Regions from separate parts of the Homo sapiens genome. Here region 2 is linked to region 1. Evidence: promoter capture Hi-C in human tissues and cell types (Jung and others, 2019). All regions are on one chromosome and are shown on one strand. Each heading gives the region's core, a stretch centred on a gene start or on the middle of the fragment in contact. The rest is flanking DNA. Distances are from core to core; before and after follow the strand shown. Region 1 holds the start of ZNF443 (zinc finger protein 443). Region 2 overlaps ZNF136 (zinc finger protein 136).

Region 1 (4,173 bases), core at 1,020-3,519:
AAAAATGGAATAGAAGATTACATATACCATTTATATTCTGAAGTCCAACTCTTTCTAGTATTACTTATAAAATTTATTTTCTGAAGTCCGACTCTTTCCAACTTTGGGTATACTTTGTCTTCAAAGTATAAAATAACAATCTCTAATCATAGGATGTATTTCACGGTTAATCAAAAATTTAGGCTGAAAAGAGTAAACATATCTTTTCAAGCTAACAAACTCAGGAATCAGCAGTGCTGACTGGAACACAGAAAAGTCTAATGCAACAATCAGTGCAGGTCATCCTATCACCTGGGACATCCCTTAACCCTATTCTGTTCGCCACCCTCCTAGGAGACACTCACCACCCTCCTAGGAGACACTGCCTTGTGTGCTTTTCAGGATCTTGCACTACCTCAAAGGGCAGGTTCTCCAGTCCTTAGATATAACTTTCTACCTTTTAAGTCTGAGAGAGTCCAGAAGGCAAAAATCATTTCCGTTTTTTTTCCTATGGAATATGACCATGAAATTGGCTGTTCAGTCATGTGTCTCCAAGGAATGGAAACTAGGGTTGGGAAGAAAAGGTGAGTGTCCCAGGAGTTAGCTTTTTACAGGAATTATATACCAGAAGATTCCTCCCATCCCAGTGGATCCAGTTGCTCCCCAGGGGGCCACACCTTCCATCTCAGGCTGTCCCCTGGGAGGAGTGACCCAGGGGATGATATTCACTAGACCCTCCAAGAGACTTGGCAGCTGTGGACATCCATTTTTTTTGAGACAGGGTCGGCCTCTGTTGCCTAGGCTGGGATGCAGAGGCACGATCATAGCTCACTGCAACTTCAAACTCCTGGGCTCCAGCCATCATCCCACCTCAGCCTCAGGAGTAGCTGCGACTACAGGTGCCAGCTACCAAGCCCAGCTAATTTTATTATTATCATTTACACTAGAGACAAAGTCTTGCCATGTTGCCCAGGCTGGTCTGGAACTACTGGGATCAAGCAATACCTCTGCCTTAGCCTCCCAAGGTGCTGGAATTACAGGAATGACCCACCGTGTTCAGGAACCCAAAACAATTCTTTCAAGAAAAAGCCATACATTGCTAGCTGAAAACAAGATGACAAACTAGTGAAATATCGCCTGGGGCCAAACAGTTCATACTGTTGCTGTGAATTAAGGACAGAAGGTTAGCCTGGGGAAGTCTCTGGAAACCAAGAGATTTGCTGCCAGCCCTAGGAAGAGTCAGGATGAGAGAACACAGTGGTGGATTTGAGACCCTGCTGCCCACGTCTTTGGAAGACTCAGAGGGGAAACGGTCGCCCTTGGAAAGGAAGAAAGGACTGAGGACCACGGAAACCACAGCTCCTCCCACACACAAACCCCACACACGAGTCTGGATTCCACCTGGTGACTCGTCGTCACCGTGCAGCCTCCTCACCGGGTTCACAGGAACTGCGAGCCAGGCTGGAGGCGAGATTGCAGTTAGATATTAAACAGGTGCCCTCAGCCCCGCTGCCTCAAGGGGCCGCCTCCCTGAGAGTCAGGTCACAGCAGACGCTGACCGCCGGCTTCCCCATTGTGCCTGGGGATAAGATCTCCGAGTGCTGCTCAAGAGTCGCCGGAGTTCTCAGATCCTGAATCCCAGCAGAAAGGCTGGCGCCAACCAGGTTGAAGACCCCACGAGGGAGCCCTCTCAGCAGAATGCGGTTTCTTCACCTCCTGTCCCAGGATTCACCCCTCACTTCCCCACCAACCAAGGACGCTACACCCAGCCGCCCCCGTCCAGACCCCAAATCCCTCAGGGAGGCGGATCTGGGGTGTCCTCCCCTCTCCTCCTGTTAAACCGTTTCTGCTGCAGCCCTCGGCGTCTCGGTGCAGTGAGTCGGGCCGCGAACCTGTGTTGGTTACAGCCGCACAATCTGGGGAGACCCGGGGCTGCGGGCTCGGAGCTGCCCAGAGAGGGCGCCGGGGCCGCAGTCGCCGCGCAGGAACGGGACAGGACGCCCGGGGTCCCGGCTGCATGCCCAGCCCCACCCTGCGGCCGAGGGCCGACCTACGCCAGGGGGACCCGGGTCCGTAGATCCCGAAGTCGCCCTTGGGGAGGCCCGGGTCCAGCCACAGCCGATTACGGCCGGTTCCACCTAACCCCTCCCCCGCCTCGGGACGCCGGCCCAGCACACGCACCATTTCCCGACTTCCGCGGTGTCCCAGGTCCTACCGACAGCTCCCGCTGCCAATGCGTGTTCCAGCCAGACAAAGGCTGCCTCAGAACTTCCAGGTCGTCTCTCAGCTACAGAACCCAGAGCCGAGCGCAGGTGGGTGGAGCAGACGCCGCGGGCTTTTTCAACCACACACACTTCTCTGGGCAGTGCCTGATTGACAGTTCCCACGAACCCGCCCCACGCCCCTGATTGGATAGGGCGTCAGGTCCCGCCCCCTGAGGGCTGATTGACAGAAGAAGCGATCTTGCACAGCTGAGTGGAGCCGGATGAGCAAGTTCCTGACACAGCCCTTGGCAGGGGGGGCTTCCTCCCTGCTCTTTGATCTGAATCCTCCCGGGTTATATTTGCACTTAAGCGGAATTTCCTGCCCGTACTCAATAGGACCTCCTGCTTCTTCCTCCTGGACACGGACTGACAAACTAATTATATCTTTTTTTTTTTTTTTCCTCGAGAGGGAGTCTTGCTCTGTCGCCCAGGCTAGAGTGCAATGGTGCGAGGCTCACTGCAACCTTCGCCTCCTGGGTGGGTTCAAGCAATTCTCCTGCCTCAGCCTCCCGAGTAGCTAGGATTACAGGCACGCGCCACCACCCGGCTAATTTTTGTATTTTTCAGTAGAGGCTGGGTTTCACCATGTTGGCCAGGCTGGTCTCAAACTCGTGACCTCGTGATCCGCCTACCTTGGCCTCCCAAAGTTCTGGGATTAGAGGCGTGAGCAACTGCGCCTGGCTCCAATTATGCTCTTTTTCAATGAAATTTTTCAAGATTTTTCAATGTACAATTAAATTATTTTTTACTATAGTCACTCTGTTGTGCTAGCAAATACTAGGTCTTATTCATTCTTTGTAACTATTTTTTATACCTATTAACCATCCCCACTTCCCCCATAACTACTCCTCGCTACTACTTTTCGCAGCCTCTGGTAACCATCCTTCTACACATTTTTGGTTGTTTGAGATGGGGTCTTGCTCTGTTACCTAGGCTGGAGTGCAGTGGGGCCATCATGGCTCACTGCAACCTCTACCTCCTAAGCTCAAGCAATCCTCCCACCTCAGCCTCTCAAGTAGCTTCAGATTGTTCACTGTTGGCATATAAAAATGTTATTGATTTTTGTGTGTTGATATTGTATACTGCAACTTTACTGAATTTATTTCTCAGTTCTAATACTTTTTTGGTGGAGTCTTTAGGTATTTCCAGATATAAGATCATATTATATGCAAACAAGGATAATTTGACTTCTTCCTTCCCAATATGGATGCCCTTTATTTCTTTTTTTTTCTTTTTTTTTTTTTTGTCTTATTGCTCTAGCTGGGACTTCAAGTACTGTGTTGAACAACAGTGGTAAAAGTGGGCATTCTTATTGTGTTCCAGATCTTACAGGAAGGGCTTTCAGTTTTTCCCCATTCATTATCATGCTAGCTGTGGGTCTGCCATATATAGCTTTTATTATGTTAAGGTATGCTCCTTCTTTACCCACTTTTTTTTAGGGTTTTTATCATGAAGGGATGTTAAATATTATCAAAAGCTTTTTCAGTGCACATTGAAATGATTATATGGTGTTTGCCCTTTATTCTGTTGAAATGATACATCACATTGATTGATTTGCATATATTGAACCATCCTTGCATCCCAGGGATAAAGCCCACTTGGTCATGATGAATGATCTTTTTGGTGTATTGTTAAATTCAGTTTGCTAGTATTGAGTTGAGGATTTTTGCATCAATATTCATCAGTGACACTGGCCTATAGTTTTCTTTTTCTGACATGTCTTTGTCTGGTTTTGGTGTCAAAGTAATATTGGCTTTGTAAAATAAATTTGGAAGTATTGCCTTCTCCTCTGTTTTTTGGAATAGTTTGAGTAAGATTGGTATTAGTTCTTTTTTAAATGTTGGTAGAATTCAGCAGTGGAGCCACTGGGTTCTGGGGTTTTCTTTGCTAGGAGACTTTTTATTATGGCTTTGATCTCATTATTTGTTAT
Region 2 (4,173 bases), core at 698-3,197, 260 kb before region 1:
GTGGCTCACGCCTGTAATCCCAGTACTTTGGGAGGCTGAGGTGGGTGGATCATGAGGTCAGGAGATCGAGACCATCCTGGCTAACACGGTGTAACCCTGTCTCTACTAAAAATGCAAAAATTAGCCGGGCGTGGTGGCGGGCACCCATAGTCCCTGCTACTCGGGAGGCTGAGGCAGGAGAATGGCATGAACCTGGGAGGCGGAGCTTGCAGTGAGCCGAGATCATGCCACTGCACTCCAGCCTGGGCAGCAGAATGAGACTCTGTCTCACAAAAGAAAAAAAAGAAAGAAAGAAAAAAAAAAAAGAAAAATTGTGAATCAATATTCTGTGCATACAATTTTAGGTGTGTTTTTTTCACATAAATTTTCATTTTCATGCTCATGTAGTCACAGTTTTTATCACAAGAATTATTTCTCATTCACTTATGATACCAAAAGTTAAATCAAGCTTTTAACCTTTTTCCAAAGATTATCAGGACCATAGCTCCTGTCAAAGAAGGTATAAAAAAAAGTCATCATAAATATGATAGTAAACCATACGTGACTGTGTGGTGTATCAATAGGAGAGCGCTCAAAAGAATTTCTTTTTTTTTTTTTCTTTTTTTTTTGAGATGGAGTCTCACTCTGTCGGCCAGGCTGGAGTGCAAGTGGCACAGTCTGGGCTTACTGCAACCTCTGCCTTCCAGGTTCAAGCTATTCTCCTGCCTCACCCTCCTGAGTAGCTGGGATTACAGGCACAGGTCACCATGCCTGGTTAATTTTTGTATTTTTTATAGAGACGGGGTTCCTCCATGTTGGCCAGGGTGGTCTCGATCTCCTGACCTCAGGTGGTCTGCCAGCCTCGGCCTCCCAAAGTGCTGGGATTACAGGCGTGAGCCACCACACCCAGCCCAAAAGAATTTCTTCTAGGACGTGTGCTTGCTTCAGGTGTATTGATTGCTATTCAAAGCAAGAAGCTTCTCTGGATTGTATACTATGAAGAAGCAAGGTTATTTCTGGCCTTGGTTATTATGATAGTTCTTACCCAGAAGTAAAAAAGATGGAGTGGCGCTAAGTTTATTACCTAAACACTGAAATATTTCTTATGATGAATTAGACATGGCTTCCCATAAGATACCTCAGTTGAAATATATAAATTCTAACTATTGATAATTTTTTTTTTTTGAGACAGAGTCTGGCTCTGTTGCCCGGGCTGGAGTGCAGTGGCGCAGTCTCGGCTCACTGCAAGCTCCACCTCCCGGGTTCACACCATTCTCCTGCCTCAGCCTCCCGAGTAGCTGGGACTACAGGTGCCCGCCACCACACCCGGCTAATTTTTTTGTAATTTTAGTAGAGACGGGGTTTCACCATGTTAGCCAGGATGGTCTTGATCTCCTGACCTCGTGATCTGCCTGCCTCGGTCTCCCAAAGTGCTGGGATTACAGGCGTGAGCCACCGCCCCCGGCCAACTACTGATAATTTTTAAAAGTCTCCCTTATTAGTCAAATTAGGCTAATGCCTCTAGGAAAGTTGTCAGAATATAAACCTAGCAAGGGACAGAGACATGATCACTATTCTAATCAAGCCTCTCTTGCTCAGATAATATGCTCTTGATGCTAATTTTTCAATATGCCTCATATGCCAGAACTGTAGACTCAGAACATCCAGAATTAAGCACAAATGATGCAGGCACTGAAGGCTCTGATATGGGAACACAAAGTGAATAAATTCTTGAAATCCTGGTGCTTATATTTTTGTGAGAAAGGAGAGGGGTTGAAAAAATGGTAAGACTGGTTTATAAGAAGGAAATAAGCACTTTGAAGGAAAGTAAATGATGGTGTGAGATAATACGGAAGCTGAGGGTGTGTGTATATGTTCTCTGTGGAGGGTGGCAACATCAGTGAGTGAAGAAATGTCACCATCGGTCATTTATATTTCCACCTCTTATACATCTTCAGCACCATTTCAGGAACTGCTTAAGTGTGGATGTAGATAGTGCATAGCAATATAGACAGTCCTGCCTTTTTGAGGTTAACAATAATGATTCCCCGTAAAGATATAGGTATGGCTTATTGTCATTTTTGCATTGGTTAAAAATTTTAATGCATGTAATATGTGATGCTGACTTTGGACATGGGTATCTGGAACCTGGAGGAAGGCACACCACTGCATACGGTGTGTGCTAGAACCACGTTGGATCCCTGTTGAAACATCTTAAGTGTTCTGCCCCTTAAGCCACAGGGGCGGAGCCTGAAGTTATATCCAGTTAGGGGTGCCAGGATGGCATCCTACTTATTGTCCAATCAGGCGCGCCTCAGAGCCCTGTCTGCCCCCAACCTCACCCCACCCTGTACGATCTTGTGGTGAATTTTCTTTTCTTGAGCTGGCTGCATTACCTTTCTTCTGGCTCCTGGCTCCACTGCCCTGGCTCTGTGCTCTGTGCTGGCCGTGGTAGCCGGAGGGAGGACCCAGGAGACCCCGAAGATGGGAAATGGCGAGTGTGGGAAATGGCAAGTGTGCAGGGGCCTGGGGTCCGACATGGCTGGAGGGGCCCAGGCCTCCTCGCCATCAGCATCCGATTCTGTTTCATCTGAGTTGCTCAAATGTGTGGGAAGCAGGGTATCAAATCCACCCCCGGCCTAACTCTCCTTGATCTGGCAGCAAACTGCTAAATTGTAGGTATAATTTCTGCAGTCCCCAACACCAGCTTCTGTTCTCGGATGCACAGTGTTATCAACTATTTGGTTTTTTTGTTTTGTTTTGTTTTTGCATTTGTTTTTGTTTTTTTTTTTTTGGTGGAGTCTCATTCTGTCGCCGAGGCTGGAATGCAGTGGCGCAATCTCCACTCACTGCAATGTCCGCCTCCTGGATTCAAGCGATTTTCCTGCCTCAGCCTCCTGAGTAGGTGGGATTACAGGCACCTGCCACCACGCCCAGCTAATTTTTTTTGGGGGGGGACAGAGCCTCACTGAGTCGCCCAGGCTGGAGGGCAGTGGTGTGATCTTGGCTCACTGCAAGCTCCGCCTCCCGGGTTCACACCATTCTCCTGCTTCAGCCTCCCGAGTAGCTGGGACTACAGGCACCCACCACTACGCCCGGCTAATTTCTTTGTATTTTTAGTAGAGACAGGGTTTCACCATATTAGCCAGGATGGTTTCGATCTCCTGACCTCGCAATCCGCCTGTCTCTGCCTCCCAAAGTACTGGGATTACAGGTGTGAGCCACCGCGCCCGGCCATTTTTTTGTGTTTTTTAGTAGAGATGGGGTCTCACCGTGTTGGCCAGGCTGGTCTCGAACTCCTGACCTCAAGTGATCTACCCACCTTGGCCTCCCAAAGTGCTGGAATTACAGGTGTGAGTCACCATGCCCAGCTGACTATTTGTCCTTCCTTCTCCATTAGAGAAAGATGTCATATTTTAAGTTTATCATTTTTGCAGAAGGCAGTGGATGACAGTTTTATAAAGATTTCTTTTATGTTTGTGACCTTTTCGCCTGAGAGGTAAGCAGAGAATAACCACCTGAAACTCCATTGTGAAAAAGCTTTGTGTCTCTCTTTTATCTTCTCTAAGTGCAAACCCTTATCAGAATGCCTTTGCATTGAGGTTCCCCTTTGGAAACTTTGCAGGGTTGATTGCCCTCAGCCTGTCCTCTCTTTTCCTGGTCCTGGGGTTCAGAACTGACTGGGGCTGCCCCAAGAAGCCCATAGCTTCCATGTCTCTTGGAGGGTCTAGTGAGTATCAGCTCATGTGGCCCCTCAGGGGAGCCCCTGGATGCCTTGGACCTAGAAGCAGTGACATGGTTTACTCTTCCTCTGAAAAGCTCACCTCTTGGGACACTCAGCTTGTTTTTCTCTAGCCCCAGTTTTCATTCTTTGGAGACATGTTAGTGGTCAGCTAATTGGATGGCAGTATTGAGGGGAAAGACAGAAAATGATTCTTGCCCTCTGGATTCTCTCAGAGTACTTGAAGGGAGAAAAATGATCCCAAAAGACAAGGAAAACCCACCTCTGCCAGGTTATGCAAGAACTTGAAAAGCAAAATGCACTTAGGCATGGGGGTGGGGGCACAGTCCACTGTCTCTGGGAAGGGTCGGTGAGCAGCACTTTAGTGACAGGATGGGGGTTGGGGGGATGTCCCATGTGATAGGATGACCTGACTGGGCAGTTAAGTCAGATTTCTCTGTGTTCCAGGTTAG

What was found. Contacts are between HindIII fragments. The study calls those that stand out against the background at their distance.
Region 2: a fragment that was not itself captured here is called in contact with the fragment with the promoter of ZNF443 in region 1 in 3 of the 25 tissues and cell types used here (H1 embryonic stem cells, IMR-90 fibroblasts and dorsolateral prefrontal cortex).

The regions. Positions count from the first base shown.
Region 1 is chr19:12,438,752-12,442,924 of GRCh38, forward strand. It overlaps ZNF443 (zinc finger protein 443), which reads right to left and starts at 2,270. Exons shown (of 4, transcript NM_005815.5): 1 at 2,161-2,270. The coding sequence starts at 2,163. RefSeq lists a silencer at 1,949-2,038 and an enhancer at 2,449-2,718. The HindIII fragment of the contact is 16,773 bases long and covers 1-4,173 here.
Region 2 is chr19:12,178,720-12,182,892 of GRCh38, forward strand. All of the region lies in intron 1 of ZNF136 (zinc finger protein 136), which reads left to right. Among named protein-coding and RNA genes, the nearest start is that of ZNF136, 18 kb to the left of the region's middle. The HindIII fragment of the contact is 3,876 bases long and covers 10-3,885 here.